Linked DNA regions of Homo sapiens: region 2 is linked to region 1. Evidence: promoter capture Hi-C in 16 types of primary human blood cells and fetal thymus (Javierre and others, 2016). All regions are on one chromosome and are shown on one strand. Each heading gives the region's core, a stretch centred on a gene start or on the middle of the fragment in contact. The rest is flanking DNA. Distances are from core to core; before and after follow the strand shown.

The links. Contacts are between HindIII fragments. The CHiCAGO score rates a contact against its expected background, and 5 or more counts as called.
Region 2: a fragment that was not itself captured here is called in contact with the fragment with the promoter of RAB8A in region 1 in 1 of 17 cell types (naive CD8 T cells); the score reaches 5.5 in naive CD8 T cells.

What each region holds. Positions count from the first base shown.
Region 1 is chr19:16,109,195-16,114,355 of GRCh38, forward strand. RAB8A (RAB8A, member RAS oncogene family) reads left to right here and starts at 2,695. Exons shown (of 8, transcript NM_005370.5): 1 at 2,695-2,831. The coding sequence starts at 2,708. RefSeq lists a silencer at 2,078-2,737. The HindIII fragment of the contact is 12,373 bases long and covers 1-5,161 here.
Region 2 is chr19:16,391,397-16,396,463 of GRCh38, forward strand. It overlaps EPS15L1 (epidermal growth factor receptor pathway substrate 15 like 1), which reads right to left. Exons shown (of 24, transcript NM_001258374.3): 17 at 3,948-4,071; 18 at 2,555-2,605; 19 at 908-1,044. Among named protein-coding and RNA genes, the nearest start is that of KLF2, 69 kb to the left of the region's middle. The HindIII fragment of the contact is 3,769 bases long and covers 1-3,524 here.

The DNA.
Region 1 (5,161 bases), core at 1,445-3,944:
GCTCACGCCTGTAATCCCAGTACTTTGGGAGGTGGAGGCAGGCGGATCACGAGGTCAGGAGTTCGAGACCAGCCTGGCCAACACAGTGAAACCCCATCTCTACTAAAAATACAAAAAAATACACCACACCAGGCGTGGTGGTGGGTGCCTGGAATCCAAGCTACTTGGGAGGCTGAGGCAGGAGAATCGCCTGAACCCGGGAGGCAGAGGTTGCAGTGAGCCAAGATCGCGCCATTGCACTCCAGCCCTGGTGACCGTGAGAGACTCCATCTCAGAAAAAAAAAAAAGTCAGGGTCTTGCTCCGTCGCCCAGGCTGGAGTGCAATGGTGCGATCACAGCTCACTGCTGCCTTGACCTCCTGGGCTCAAGGGATCCTCCCACCTTAGCCTCCTGAGTAGCTGGGACTACAAGCATACACCACCATACCTGGCTAATTTTTTAAAAAAATTTTTTGTTTTTTGAGATGGAGCCTTGCTCTGTCACCCAGGCTGGAATGCAGTGACACAATCTCGGCTCACTGCAACCTCCGCCTCCCAGATTCAAGCAATTCTGGTGCCTCAGCCGCCTGAGTAGCTGGGACTACAGGCGCACATGACCACACCTGCCTAGTTTCTGTATTTTTAGCAGAGATGGTGTTTTACCATGTTGGCCAGGCTGGTCTGGAACTCCTGACCTCAGGTGATCCACCTGCCTTGGCCTCCCAAAGTGCTGGGATTACAGGTGTGAACCACCTCGCCTGGCCAAAAAACTTTTTTTTTTTTGCAGAGATGGAGGTCTTGCTATGTTGCCCAGGCTGGTCTCCACCTCCTGGCCTCCAATGAACCTCCACCTCAGCCTCCCAAAGTGCTGGGATTACAAGCGTGCACCATGACGCCCAGCTAATTTTATTTGTTGTAGAGATGGGGATCTCCCTATCTTGTCCGGGCTGGTCTTGACCTCCTAAGCTCAAGCAATCCTCCTGCCTCCCAAAGTGCTGACTCCCAAAGTGCTGGGATTACAGGCCTGAGCCACCACACCCAGCTGCAAGCCCGATTTTCCAAATGTATCTCTCCTCTGTTTTTCTCTTTCTTTTTTTTTTTTTTTTTTTTTTTGAGACGTAGTCTCATTCTGTCGCCCAGACTGGAGTGCAGTGGCGCGATCTCGGTTCACTGCAGGCTCCGCCTCCCGGGTTCACACCATTCTCCTGCCTCAGCCTCCCGAGTAGCTGGGACTACAGGCGCCCGCCACTACTCCCGGGTAATTTTTTGTGTTTTTAGTAGAGACGGGGTTTCACCGCGTTAGCCAGGATGGTCTCGATCTCCTGACCTCCTGATCCGCCCGCCTCGGCCTCCCAAAGTGCGGGATTACAGGCCTGAGCCACCGCGCCCAGCCTTTTTTTCTTTTGATAGGGTCTTGCTCTGTCGCCCAGGCCGAATTGCAGTGGGGCGATCACGGCTTACTGCACCCTCAACCTCCTGGCTTCCCAAAGCACTGGGATCACAGACGGGAGCCAACGCCCCGGCCAGTTTTTTCAACGTTGAGAGCCCTGGCCCCTAGATAGGACCCAGCATCCTCACTGCTCTAACCCCTCCCCCCCCACCATCCCCGGGCTGGCCCGGACAACCCCTAAGGTGGCCGAGGGCGGGCCCTGAGGAGGCCGGCGCGCGCTTCCGGGCACAGCTTGTGGCGGTGAAGCCGCTCAGATGGCGGAGGCCTTGGGTATCTCTAAGCAGATCGCTAGGCCGCAGACCTCGGAGCTCGTCTTGGGTCACTTTTATTTATTTTTTTTGAGACGGAGTCTCTCTCTGTCGCCCACGCTGCAGTGCAATGGCGCGATCTCGGCTCACTGCAAGCTCCGCCTCCCAGATTCAAGCAATTCTCTGCCTCAGCCTCCCGAGTGGCTGGGATTACAGGCGCCCGCCACCACGCCCGGCTAATTTTTGTATTTTTAGTAGAAACGGGGTTTCACCATCTTGGCCAGGCTGGTCTTGAACTCCTGACCTCGTGATCCACGCGCCTCGGCTTCCCAAAGTGTGGGAATTAAAGGCGTGAACCACCGCGTCCGGCTTGGGTCACTTTTCGAGTATACAGCTCCTCCTCTCTCCTTCCTCCCTAGGCCCCCACTGCCCCGACTCGCAGGCCGCAGACAAGGCTGAGAGCGCTACCTTGCTTTCCCGCGCTCGCCTCGGTGCCTACTGCGCCTGCGCGAGCTGTGAGGGCGGGACCCAGAGACACCCGCCCCAACTACTGGCGTGCGCCCTCTGCTGTCGCCTAACGGAACTCCGGGCGCGCGTGCGCACGCACCCCAAGCCACGCCCCGCCAGGCTGCCGGCGCGCGAGCGGTTGGCGCCGCTCCCTGCCTTCCCTCTCCTACAGTGGGGCGGGGCCGGGCCGCCCGAGTCGGGGGTGGAAGGCGGGGGCCACATAATGCCACGCCCCCGCCTCGTCCCCATTTGAAGCCCCGCGACTCTTCACTGCTGGTCAATCAGAGCCCGTGCTCTCCCTAGTGCCGGCCAATGGGAGGTGCGCTCGGGCTGCTTCCGGCTCCGCGCTCCGCTCGCCCCCTCCCAAGGTCTCCCCGCGACTGGCGGGACGCAGGGGCGGGCGTCGGCCGCGGTGACGCGCAGCGGGCCTGGAGCCAATAAGGGGCGGGCTCGGTGCTGATGGACGGTGCTGGTGGCCAGTGGAGAGGCGCTGGCCGCACTTCCCGTCGGGGAGAGAGTGTAATATGGCGAAGACCTACGATTACCTGTTCAAGCTGCTGCTGATCGGGGACTCGGGGGTGGGGAAGACCTGTGTCCTGTTCCGCTTCTCCGAGGACGCCTTCAACTCCACTTTTATCTCCACCATAGGTAACGGGACCGGGGAATGGCTGGGGGCGCCGGAGGCCCGGGCTGGGCGCGCCCCTGAGGGGCTGGGGCTGAGGGATCTACAGGGCTGGACGGGCCGAGGGCGCTGAGAGGGTCGAGGGGGCCTAAAGGGAGAAGAGCAGTCGCCTGCACCGCCGTTCGGGGGTTCCTGGGCCGTGGTGGGGGAGACCAGGTGCCCATTTTGCAGATAGGGAGACTGAGGCTCCGACCCTCAGCCCGCTCGTTAGGGCGTGTTATGTCTTGGGCTGGGGTCTTCGCGCCCGTCCTCTCGATCTGTCCTAGCAGCAGCCCTCGAAGCGGTTCTTTTGAGGCTCTTGCCTTACAGAAGTGGAAACTGAGTCATGGGGAATTGGCCATGGGAAAAAGACAGTGGCATCTCACCTTAATGAGCATTTACTATGTGCCAAGTGCTTCACGTGCATTTTCACACTCTTCAGTTCTTGGTGTTAAGTGCTGTTATGAGCCCGTCTGACAAGATGAGGAATCTGAGGCTCAGGGAGGGCATGGAACTTGCCCAAGGCCACACAGTCTGCACGTGGTGAGAATGGGATTTGATGGAATTTGAACCTGGCTGTGTCTCAACCCAAAACTCGAGGCTTAGCTCTCCTAGAGAGATGCCACTGCACACTCCCAGCTGATGACAAGCTCAGCTAATGCACCTTGGAGCCGGGACTCTAACCCACACCATTCCTGCTCTTTTCTCTGGAGCGTTCAGAGGTTGAGCCCCTCTCCCTGACCATGCTTCCCCTCATAAGCGTATTTTCCTCTAGAAGGAATGATAAGAAGAGTCAGGACCTTTTCCCTGCCCACCTTTCATCCTGCTCCAGGAATGACAGCAATGGCAAGTGACAGCACTGCCTGCCCTGGGACCTGTCATCCCCAAGAAGATGCAAGATAAAAGCCTCAGCGAGAAACTAAATCAGCCACTGCCACAGACAGCCTTGACTTCCCTATCAAAGGGCCCAAGACTCCAGCTGTCACTTTAGAACAGCTTTTCCTGTAGGGCCAGCCCACATTGTGGTTGAACAGAATTGGCTTGGTGCATCTCAGTTGTGATGTCCACAGAAGTGGAGCTGACCTCTCTCAGTGCCACAAAAGCAGTCCTGGCCCACAATGAAAAGGTTTGACCCAGGAGTAACACCTATTTGAGTGGCTTGTGAGCTCTGTAGCCCTGCTAGGGATGGGGAAAGTGGGGGAACGGTCACTAAGTCCAGGAGTTTATTCCGACTCAAGAAAACCTAGGGAATGGCCTTTGCTTTACTGTGTCACTTTGACAGAATCGTGTTATCTCCCTGAACCCCAAGATAATGTGCTAATTCCATTCTTGCCCTCCTCCAGGAGCTATGCTTTATTTATTTTATTTTATTTTATTTTTTGAGACGGAGTCTAGCTCTTTTGCCCAGGCTGGAATCCAGCGGCAGGATCTCGGGTCACTACAACCTCTGCCTCCCGGGTTCAAGCAATTCTCCTGCCTCAGCCTCCCTAGTAGCTGGGATTATAGGCACCCGCCACCACGTCCAGCTAATTTTTGTATTTTTAGTAAATACAGGGTTTCACTGTGTTGGTCAGGCTGGTCTCGAACTCCTGACCTTGTGATCTGCCTGCCTTGGCATCCCAAAGTGCTGGGATTACAAGCATGAGCCACCGCACCCAGCGGAGCTGTGCTTTATAAAACAGTTATATGCCAGATGTAAAATAGAGAGAATTGACTGGAAATCATTACGTCTGGTTTCCAGTTGCTGTTTGCCCTTGAATGTGCACTACCCCTCTCTGAGCCCTGCTGTCTTTAGAGCAGGAGTGACACTGTCTGCCCAGCCTAGTGCCCTGGTGGTTGAGGATTAGAATTAGACAATAAGGGGTTGTCACCACAACCAGAGGCTATCTAGAGGAAGCAAATGAATGGCTCCTGCAGTGACAGCATCCAGCCTCTGAAGACAGATGTTTCTGAATTCTTCCCCCTCCCCCACTCCAAGGCTAAACTTTAGGGTAATTCTTGTGCTCCAACCAATCAAGAAGTGGCGTTAATTCAGCCTGGGCAACATGGCAAACCCCATCTCTACAAAAAATAAAATAAAATCAGCCGGGCACAGTGGCTCACCCATGTAGACCCAGCCACTTGGGAGGCCAAGGTGGGAGGATCGATTGAGCCCAGGAGGTCAAGGTGCAGTGAGCTGTGATGGTGTCACTGCACTCCAGCCTGGGCAACAGAGCGAGACCCTGTCTTAAAAAATAATAATAAAAATAAAAGAAAGAAAGAAATGATGTTAACTGTGAGCAGACTGGCTTGCATTCACTCAGATCCCAGTTTCCCA
Region 2 (5,067 bases), core at 390-2,889, 280 kb after region 1:
ATACTGCAAATGAGTCTTTGCCTTCAAGGAGCTTCAAGCGCTAAAGACCAAAAGGTCCACAGGGAGTGAGCGAGGTGGGCGCCAGGGTAGCAGGAGCCCTGAGAAGGAGGGTGAGTGCCCGTCTCTGAGCAGGCCCCGGGCCTGGGTTGCAGCCTAGAAAACGGAAGAAGGCTATGAAGCACGCTCACTCCATCATGAACATCCTCTGCTCCATCACCGAGGCTGCTTTTTTTTTTTTTTTTGGTTTTGAAATCCAAGTTGACACCTATTTAACCCAATCTCTTGGGCATAATATGCAAAATACCCGGTGTCTGCCACGCCCGGGGATGGGAGTACAGGTATGCTGGAGTTGGAAACTGGAGGGTCAGAGTTGGCTGATGCTCTCAGGAGACACCAGGCAAGGCAGCCGGGCTGAGACGCCTGCACTTACTCCTGCCGTGACGGGAGCACCTACCAAACGTGACTCTAAGGTCCCCACCAGTGCTGTGTGTTACAAGGACCGTGCAGGGTGGCCGGGTCCATGCGAGCATGTGGTGCTTGTGTGATTTAGTCTTTTTTGGGAGATGAAGGGGCAGTGGGGGCAGATGACTAGAGTTGAGGGGTAGGAATGGGGATAGAGAAATAAGAACTATGGGTGACATCCTCCTTGCCCTGATGTGGGGCCACTGGACTGCTAACTGCACCTTGGGGCTCACAGGATGTCACTGCAGTGACTAGGCCAGTGAGCTCCCTCACTCAGCAGGAATGAAATCAGCCTGGGATACCAGCTCCCGGAGAACAGACACCATGGCCCACACTCGCAGGCACCATGTACGCTCCACGAAGGGAAGGGGGCCTTCGGGAAGCGCCACCCTTACCACACAGAGCAGGCACGCAGCTCTCCCGGGCAACGTCCCACCCCACTCACCTTCGAAGGTAAGGAAGGGTTTTTCGTGAATGGATCCGAGGTAAATGGGTCATTCTTTGTCTGTTTCTTGAAGAAGTCGTCAGTGGCAGAGCCACGGAATGGGTCACTTTCTTTGAAAGGGTCCCCTCCAAATGGATCTAGAAGGAAAAATGCCCCATAAGTAAACATTATACCAAGTGAAAGAACCCAGACATAAAAGAACACATCACAGAATGATGCCGTTTACATGAAATTCTAGAAAGGTAAGAACGCTAGTGACGGAAAACAGGATAATGGTGGCCAGGGGACCCTGAGGAGAGGGTGGAGGGTGACAACAAAGGGGCCTCAGGAATGACAGAAGTGTTCTCAAATTGCACACAACCGTGCATATTTAATGAAACTCATCTTATTACATAGTAAAATGGGTGAATTTTGTTCTGTGTAAATTATGCCACTCAATAAAATTGACTTTAAAAATAATAATATCCTGGCCAGGCACAATGGCTCATGCCTGTAATCCCATCACTTTAGGAGGCTGAGATAGGAGGATCACTTGAGGCCAGGAGTTCAAGACCAGCATGGGCAACACAGAGAAAAATAAAATAAAAAATTAGCCAGGTGTGGTGGCACACGCCTGTAGTATCAGCTACTAAGGAGGCTGAGGCAGAAAGGCTGCTTGAGCCCAGGAGGTCAAGGCTGCAGTGAGCTATAATTGCGCCACTGCACTCCAGCCTAGGCAATAGAGTAAAACCCCATCTCTAAATAAATAAATAAAATATCCTGCAGGAGCTGGATATAATAATAATAATAATAATAATAATAATAATAATAATAATAATAATAAACAACGCAGGTAAATCCATAGAGACAGAAAATAGGTTGGTGGGTGCCAGGGGTTGCGGGAGGGAATGGGGAGTGACTGCTGATTGGGATGGGGTCTCCTTTTGGGGGGATGAGAATGTTGTGGAACTAGATGAAGGTGATCATTGCACAACACTGTGAGTGTGCTCAATACCACTGAATTGGATGCTTTAAAACAGTGACTTTTATGTTACATAAATTTCACCTGAAAAAAAATAAATCGGTCGGGCATGGTGGCTCACGCCTGTCATCCCAGCACTTTGGGAGACCAAGGTGGGCAGATCACCTGAGGTCAAGAGTGTGAGACGAGCCTGGCTAACACGGTGAAACCCCGTCTCTACTAAAAATACAAAAAATTAGCCGGGCGTGGTAGCGGGCGCCTGTAGTCCCAGCTACTTGGGAGGCTGAGGCAGGAGAATGGCGTGAACCCGGGAGGCGGAGCTTGCAGTGAGCCGAGATCGCGCCACTGCACTCCAGCCTGGGCGACAGAGCGAGACTCCGTCTCAAAAAAAAAAAAAATAAAAAATAAATAAATAAATAAATAAATAAAATAAATAAATAAATTAGCAAGCAATGTGATCCCACCACACTCCAGGGTGGGGTGCGGGCAGTGACTGGACCTGGGGAGGGGAGCCACCTCCAGAAGGGAACGGGACCGAGAATGGGTACAACATGGATGGACGGCCGTCCTTCCCAGTTACATGGCTGCCATCCCCGGTGTATGTGGACACAAGTCCCACCACATGCGACTTCTGAGCCAGGACTGGACACAGTCTAAAGACCGGTCCGGGAAACACTGAATTTTACCTGTTGAAGTTGTCTGCTGTTCTGCAAAGGGGTCATTCTGGAACGGGTCGCCTGGTTGGAAGAGGAGAGAAATGCTTATTAGCTCTAGGGCACAGGATGCGGGCCGGGCCCTTGGACACAGCCACCCACCTCCCAAGCCTTTCATTGCCTTCTACTCCTCCAGTGTAGGGAGAGAATGTTAGTTCCTTCTCTACTATCCACCTGCCCTCAAAACCTTGGCAAATCAAAGAGGGGGACCTGGAGGAGGCAGCTGTTTCTGGCTAGGATGTTTAAGATGAGAAGGAAGGTACTGCTGGCTGTCCCACACAGACTGGAGTTGGGGAAGACACAGAGTGGGCTAGAATTCACTCCTCTCTTCCCATGCTGGGTTTCCTTTATCCCATCTGCCTGCCAGCTCCCTGGGTAAGAGGACACAGGACCCTGGGCTGTCCCTCACTTTATCACCGGCCCTGCAGCAATGAGGCGGCGGCACCCCTGGGCTTCAGGGGCTGCCAGATTCGCCTCTCAGACCCGGCAGGCTTCAAACCCAAGCTGAAGCTCAAGCTCCCGCTGCCCTCTCCCCACCTCAGTGTTTTTCTCAAAAATGTAGAGAGCCTTCCTCCTGGAAATACTGTTTTGCTCTGAAACATGGACAGAAACTTGGAAATCTTGTTTCTGGAATTCTTAGTTATTCTTGACTCAGGTGTGGCTCTGGACAGACTCCTAAAATTATCCAGACCTTAGGTTTATGTAGGAATCCATGGTTTTCCAGGTACTTTCATGATCATTACTAGCTCTGATTATTTTATCAACCCTGTGAGGTGAGCAAGGAGGAAATTTATTAACCTGCTGAGGGATTAGGAAACTGAAGTACTGAAGGGTTCAAGGGGGCTGGCCAAGCTGCCTTCAAATGTGGGTCTTGTGGTGAGCTTGGAACACTTCCCACTGTATCTTGATGCCTTGGCTCTCTGGTTAACAGGGTGAGATAAGAAGCTTAAAAGGCGTTCCTGCTGGGTGCGGTGCCTCACACCTGTAATCCCAGCACTTTGTGGGGCTGAGGCGGGTGGATTACCTGAGGTCAAGAGTTCGAGACCAGACTGGGCAACACAGTGAAACCCCAACTCTACTAAATATACAAAAATTAGCCGGGTGCGGTGATGGGCGCTGAGGCAGGAGAATTGCTTGAACCCAGGAGGCGGAGGTTGCAGTGAGCCGAGATTGCGCCACTGCATTCCAGCCTGGCTGACAGCAAGAGAGCGAGAGTTCGTCTCCAAAAAAAAAAAAAAAAAAGGCATTCCTTTCCCCCTCCATTTCAGATTGTGGCATGTCCTTACTTTTCTAGTTGAAGAACCACTCTAAATTCGACATAAAACACACAGTCTTTCAATGAGAAAGTGGGTAGCAAGTGAGATACCTTTGAAGGGGTCAGCTCCTTTAAATGGGTCAGATTTGAAGGGGTCTTCTGTCTGGAAAGGATCCGGATGCAACTCTTGCGTGTTGTTGCTAAATAACAAGGCTTTATTTTTGAAAGGATCATCCTACAATTTTGTGAAGAAACAGGACAGGGATTTTATTATTTCTGAGTTAAAGCAAAGTACGGAATTCCATACTTAACTCACATTTCCACTTTGAGTAGCATGACCCTAAAAAGAATGATTTAGCCAGGAGTTCGAGGCTGGCCTGGGCAACATAGCAAAATCCCATCTCTATAAAAACAAAAATTTAAAAATGAGGCCAGGCATGGTGGCTCACGCCTGTAATCCCAGCACTTTGGGAGGCCAAAGCAGGTGGATCACCTGAGGTCAGGAGTTCAAGACCAGCCTGGCCAACATGGTGAAAACCTGTCTCTACTAAAAATACAAAAAATTAGCTGGGTGTTGTGCCGGGCACCTGTAATCCCAGCTACTTGGGAGGCTGAGGCAGGAGAACTGCTTGAACCCAGGAGGTGGAGGTTGCAGTGAGCTGAGATTACGCCATTGCGCTCCAGCCTGGGCGATAGAGTGAGTCTATCTCAAAAAAAAAAAAAAAAAAATCAAGGTGTGGTGGCGTGTACCTATAATCCCAGCTACTTGGGAGGTTGACTCAGGAGATTGCCTGAACCCAGGAGGTGGAGGTTACAGTGAGCTATGATTGTGCCACTGCACTCCAGCCACAACAGTGCAAGACCCTGTATCTTTAAAAAAAAAAATTAATTAAAGATCATTGAAGAAGTATGAACTTGAGTGAATAATAATGTTTAATACTGGTTCATTAGTTGTGACAAATGTACTATATATGATGTGACTAACAGGAGGAACTGGGTGTGGGATATAGAGGAACTATGCACTATCTTTGCAGTTTTTCTTTTTCTGAAACAGGGTCTCACTCTGTTGTCCAGGTTGGAGTGCAGTTGCACACTCATGGGTTACTCCAGCCTTGACCATCTGGGCTCAAGTGATCCTCCCACGTCGGTCTCCCGAGTAGCCAGGACTATAGGCGCGCACCACCAAGCCTGGCTAATTTTTATATTTTTTGTAGAAATGAAGTCTCTCACT